2 separate regions of the Homo sapiens genome follow, and region 1 is linked to region 2. Evidence: promoter capture Hi-C in 16 types of primary human blood cells and fetal thymus (Javierre and others, 2016). All regions are on one chromosome and are shown on one strand. The core of a region is centred on a gene start or on the middle of the fragment in contact, and the rest is flanking DNA. Distances in the headings are between cores, read along the strand shown.

Region 1 (2,864 bases), core at 337-2,836, 120 kb before region 2:
ATCAACCCCTTTGAGGTTCCTGTCCTCCCCACAGACTTGTGACATTTTGCAATAGCCACTTTGATGCAGCTTCCTCGGGGTGGGATTGGAGTTGAGGTGGGGTTCAGGAATGAACTTCCGGTATGGATACCTGTTATGTACTTTACTGTGATGTTTACAATGGCAAGAACAGGGATTTGACACTCAGACACCACTACTGGGTCAAGACGCCCTGCTTTGCTCCCCATCTCCCCAGTCAGTTTAGGCGCAGCATATCCAAAACGTCTTCCTCAAGACGCTAGTGCCCGTCAAGATGTTAGCTGCTGTTATGCGGGGAGGGGAGGGGGTGTCCTGTGGTCATATTCATTTAGAAATTTTTGATTTAGTTCACTCAGCTATTAACCTCAGAACTGGGTATTTTCGTTGCAGAGAGATTCCTAGGATCCCTAAACCTTTACTAATCCTCATAATAGCCAGAGATCATGAAACGTCCTAAAGTCTCCTTGTCTCATTTAATCCTCAAAACAACCCGCTGAGGGAATTTAGCATTATGCCCATTTTTACAGATATGGAAAAAAGAGGCCTAAAGAAGGTAAGAAATGCATCCATGATAACATAGCTGGTTAGTGGAGGAGATGATTCAACCTGGCTCTCAGCCGAGCTGTTGGTTACCATGCTACGCAGCTGCTGCCTTAATGGACCAGGAATATGAGAATAGCTTTCACTCTTCCTTCTACCCCATTCTTGCCATATGAAGACTGAGGGTCTGGGGCCATGACTGTGCCCCTAAGCACCCATTAATGGATCTCAAACTCTTTTCTTTTTTGCTCTTTTTCAGTAATCTCTGGATCTCAGGATGGAATGACTTCAAGGGAGATTTTGGCCTTTGTTACATCCCTTTGCAGGGCTTACCCTGGCAGCAGCAAACTTCCAGGGACAGTTTTCTGTGGACTGCACCTGACGCGGATGGTGGTTGATCTCCCAGAACTGCAGGACTGGGTCACATCATTGGACCTGCAGAGAAAGCCAGCCCCCATGAGGGAATGAGTCACTCAGCTGTGTTATTGGACAGCCACCAAGAGAAATCCGCATGGAGCAATTCCCTTGCTGGGGAAGTCAGGACTTGGGCTTTAGCCTGGCACACAGGGAGTGCACAGGCCTTGGTTTATACGTGGAAAGGGTGGGGATCAACAATATGTAGTCAAGGGGGAAATGCCCTGGTTTAGGAAAGTCATGGCTAGCATACACTGGAGCCTGCTTAGGCTGGAAGGGAAGTCCACTGCAGATCATCCAATATTTCTCCTTGCCTCTAGGGCAGATCTGCTCCAGTAATATCCAGGAAGCTGGGATCAGGAACTCCCAGCCCTTAGCTATCATGACTGGGCAGATCTGCTAGACCTCAGACATGTTCTGGCTTGATAAGCAGTAGGTGGCTAGAGAGGGAGGGATGCAGCAGAAATTATGGAGGAGTCCTAGGTTTCACTTGCATTAGCCTAGCCTCTCATCTTCACCTATAAAAGAAGATCACGTCCGGTATTCCCAAGGACTCCAGGTGGAAAAGTTCAGCTGGGGAGGTGATTCCATCCAGAGTCATATCTGTTGTCACCCCTGCCAAATTAGAGCTCCTAATTAGTTCTCACTAGTAGCATTAGCTGGCAACCACTTCAATTCTTCCAATACCTGTCAACATCCAACCTCACTTCATCTCATCACATCCCTGAGTGGCTTATGAAAGGGTGAAACAAGGGTTTGTCAGAGTCCCTGGGAGCACTTTGCACACAGAGTGGAATAGAAAACACAGGTCAAGAGGTTGGGCCCCTCATGTGGGGCCTTTTACCTCCCAGACTGGTAACCTCACACTCTCTTACACATACACACACACACACACACACACACACTCTCAAACAAGGCTGAGGCAGCGGAGTTACTCACCAATAAGTCGATCAGCAAGGCTGACAGGCTGTGAGGAAACCCCGGCCTTGTAGCCTGTCACCTCTGGGGGGATGATGACTGCCTGGCAGACGTAGGCTGTGATAGATTTGGAGAACCCTGACTCACCCTCAGGAATCCGGAGGTCAGTGACATTGTCGGTGCACACAGACATTTTCCTACCCTGGTTGGGGAGTGGGGAGGAAGAAGTAGGAAGAAGTGAGTGGTCACAGAGGAATTCCCAGAAGGGAATAGGGAAGGCTTTTTTACATCTAAATTTTCAGCGTTTCAATGGTATGTTGTAGGGGAATGATTCATCCCAGGTCTAATGACGAGACAGATTTGATTTTTTTGTTTTGTTTTGTCTTTTTGAGACAGAGTCTTGATCTATTGCCCGGGCTGGAGTGCAATGGTGCAATCATAGCTCACTAAAGCCTTGAACTCCTGGGCTCAAGTGATCCTCCTGCCTCAGCCTCCTAAGTAGCTGGAACCGCAGGTTAATTTTTTTTTTTTTTTTTCGTAAAGATAGGGCCTCTCTGTGTTGTTCAGGCTGGTCTTGAACTCCTGGGCTCAAGCAATCTTCCTGCCTCAGTCTCCCAGAGTGTTGGGATTACAGGGGTGAGCCACTGTGCCCAGTCAACATTTTCAATGTTATAAATTTTATTATAAATGGTGCTGGCTGGGTGCAGTGACTCACACCTGTAATCCCAGCACTTCGGAAGGCCGAGGCAGGTGGATCATGAGGTCAAGAGATTGAGACCATCCTGGCCAACGTGGTGAAACCCCGTCTTTACTAAAAACACAAAAATTAGCTGGACGTGCTGGCGCATGCCTGTAGTCCCAGCTACTCGGGAGGCTGAGGCAGGAGAATCGCTTCAACCTGGGAGGCGGAGGTTGCAGTGAGCAGAGATCGTGCCACTGCACTCTAGCCTGGCAAAAGAGTGAGACTCCACCTC
Region 2 (3,149 bases), core at 288-2,787:
CCAGACCAAACAAAATACAATTACTATTCAATTTTGGGGTAATAACATTCCTAGAAACTTCAACGTACATTAAAAGTGTGGGAAAATGCTTTGTGTTTATTTTTTTAATTTTTATTTTTTGAGGTGGAGTCCCGCTCTGTCACCAGGCTGGAGTGCAGTGGCACAATCCCGGCTCACTGCAACCTCTGCCTCCCGGGTTCAAGCGATTCTCCTGCCTCAGCCTCCCGAGTAGCTGGGATTACAGGCGTGCGCCACTACGCCCAGCTAATTTTTGTACTTTTAATAGAGACGGGGTTTCATCATGTTGGCCAGGATGGTCTTGATCTCCTGACTTTGTGATCCGCCCACCTCGGCCTCCCAAAGTGCTGGGATTACAGGCGTGAGCCACTGCGCCCGGCCGCTTTGTGTTTATTAACAAAGATAGGTTCAACTCTCAGATAATTAGTTTTCACTCACCGAATGTTCAGCAGGACATTCAGAAATCGTGTGTATTACGGGATTTTCTTTATGTAGCATCATCTGTTACACTGTAGGGACATTTATATTATATCCCTAGCTCTGGCCTTCCGATGCCTGTGGTTTTGCCAGCCATTGTTCTGACCAAAAGCCTTCCCCGGTGGACACGGTGGCTCACACTTGTAATCCCAGCACTTTGGGAGGCAGAGCGGGGCAGATCGCTTGAGGCCATGAGTTCCAGACCAGCCTGGGCAATGTGGGGAAACCCCATCTCTACTAAAAATACAAAAATTAGCTGGGCATTGGTGGTGTGCGCCTGTAATCCCAGCTACTTGGAGGCTGAGGTGGGAGGATGGCTTGAGCCCAGCAGGTCTAGGCTGCAGTGAACCCTGATTGCGCCACTTCACTCCATCCCGGGGGACAGTGAGGTTGTGTCTCAAAAAAACAAAAATAAGGCCGGGCATGGTGGCGCACGCCTGTAATCCCAGCTACTCGGGAGGCTGAGGAAGGAGAATCACTTGAGCCCGGGAGGCAGAGGTTGCAGTGGGCCGGGATCGCGCCACTGCACACTTCAGCCTGGGCGACAGAGTGAGACTTCGTCTCAAAAAAAAAAAAAAAAAAAATCAAAAAACCTTCACAAAATTTTAAATGCTTAGTCTCGGGACACCATCTCTTGGAAATTTGTGATGAAGCACAGTATCCCCAATAATTAACACAGTGCTTAGAAACAGTGGAACTACAAATCTTTAAAATGATTTAAAAGCATATTTGTCTGATAAAGGACTGCTGGCTTGCCCTCCTATGATCCATAGCTTCGCAGTCCCCAAACAAGAAGCTGTGATTCAATACGCAGTAGCAAATTCAGGGTGACAACGAGATACTCGCGACCTAGCCCGTGATTTCCTTTTCTTTGTTAGTTTTCAATTCCTTCGGGATTACAGGGAGGCGCTCCGGCCTCCTCCCTTAGAGACTGTCGCATTTCCGCCGCTAGGCCGGAAAGCACCACCGTCCTCCCGCAGGCCGCAGAGGGCTAGGCCCAGCTACGGCCCCGCGCGTCACCGGAAGTGAGGCGGCGGAAGTAGTGTAACCAGCTGGGAGCCAGCCGGCAGGACGCTGTGAGTTGGCGTGCTAGTGGGATGGCAGATGAGGAAGAAGACCCCACGGTGAGTGACCGTCTCTGTCCAAAACCTGTCTTTTCTTCACTCCTTCGGGCTCAGTAGCGGAGGCAGAGTTCAGGATCGGGTCTGCTTGCCTTAGTGAATTCAGCGGACAGAGTTCGGGGACTTCACGCCCTAAGGATTGATCATTTTAGAAAGTGGGGAAGGACATGAAGGAAGAGTAGGTTTTGTGACCCCTTTCCCCTTGATTTTGGTCTGTATTTGCCAGACACTGAAACACGTACAGAATCATCAGAGATCAAAACTAACATCTATTAGCGCGCACTATGAGCCAACAGTTCAATTGTTAACAAAACTGTACTTACTGTGAAGTAATGGGAAAAGAATGCATTGAAAGTCAGACAGCCTGGATTTCAAAATTTCCATTCTCTCTGAGCAAGTTATTTAACTTTGAACATCAGTTTTCTTTTTATAAAATAGGGTTACGGGCTTACTTAAGGAACGTTTTTAGCACTGTATAAGCAAATGCATAGGAAATATTAGTTTTGCTTACTACAAAGTCTACAAAGGTAGACTTTGATTCAGTATCAACTGTTTAACAGTAACAGTAGTAATAGGCCACCTTAGTTGTTTAAAAATAAAACTTATGGTCATTGGAACTCTTACAAGTAGAAGCAGTAGGATTATTAGTTAGGAACATTGTAGAAGCCATTTTTGCATGAGTTGGAAGTTGGACTAGATACATAGGCTCCTTCAATGCTAAGGTTTCGTGGTTTTTTTTTTTGCTGCTTCCTTTGGCTTTCTGGCCTATCTGTTGAAAAGGAAAAAAAAATGTCATTATTAAAATATCAAATGCAAGGCAATTATTTGACATTTCTATATATACATTTTAACTTCTAGTTTGAGGAAGAAAATGAAGAAATTGGAGGAGGTGCAGAAGGTGGACAGGGTAAAAGAAAGAGACTTTTTTCTAAAGAATGTAAGTAGTATTTGACAATGATTTTGTTATAGATGATGAAAACTTTTGGACATGTCCTTTCAAAGTAGCTTTATTGCTTTGAATGTTTCCCTGTAGGGATAATATTCTCAGACTAGCCTATCAAATTCTGTTTAACTTTTGAATCAGATAGTACCAATCCTAACCCCAATTGTGTGTGTGTGTATAAATTGCTTTTTTTTTTTTTTTGAGACGGAGTCTCGCTCTGTCGCCCAGGCTGGAGTGCAGTGGCGCAATCTCTGCTCACTGCAAGCTCCGCCTCCCGGGTTCATGCCATTCTCCTGCCTCAGCCTCCTGAGTAGCTGGGACTACTGGCGCCGGCCACCACGCCCACCTAATTTTTTTTGTGTGTTTTTATTTTGCTTTATTTTATTTTTTTAATTTTTTTAGTATTTATTGATCATTCTTGGGTGTTTCTCAGAGAGGGGTATTTGGCGGGGTCATAGGACAATAGTGGAGAGAAGGTCAGCAGATAAACATGTGAACAAGGGTCTCTGGTTTTCCTAGGCAGAGGACCCTGCGGCCTTCCTCAGTGTTTTGTGTCCCTGGGTACTTGAGATTAGGGAGTGGTGATGACT

What was found. The method cuts DNA at HindIII sites, captures the fragments that hold promoters and counts their contacts. A CHiCAGO score of 5 or more calls a contact.
Region 1: a fragment that was not itself captured here is called in contact with the fragment with the promoter of TAF13 in region 2 in 2 of 17 cell types (M2 macrophages and M0 macrophages); the score reaches 8.3 in M2 macrophages.

Annotation. Positions count from the first base shown.
Region 1 is chr1:109,196,702-109,199,565 of GRCh38, reverse strand. It overlaps ELAPOR1 (endosome-lysosome associated apoptosis and autophagy regulator 1), which reads right to left. Exons shown (of 22, transcript NM_020775.5): 16 at 1,912-2,092; 17 at 1,491-1,587; 18 at 892-993. Among named protein-coding and RNA genes, the nearest start is that of SARS1, 16 kb to the left of the region's middle. RefSeq lists an enhancer at 1,030-2,229. The HindIII fragment of the contact is 6,896 bases long and covers 1-2,864 here.
Region 2 is chr1:109,074,391-109,077,539 of GRCh38, reverse strand. TAF13 (TATA-box binding protein associated factor 13) reads left to right here and starts at 1,537. Exons shown (of 4, transcript NM_005645.4): 1 at 1,537-1,619; 2 at 2,475-2,553. The coding sequence starts at 1,593. RefSeq lists enhancers at 1,280-1,529, 1,630-1,689, 2,294-3,149. The HindIII fragment of the contact is 13,771 bases long and covers 1-3,149 here.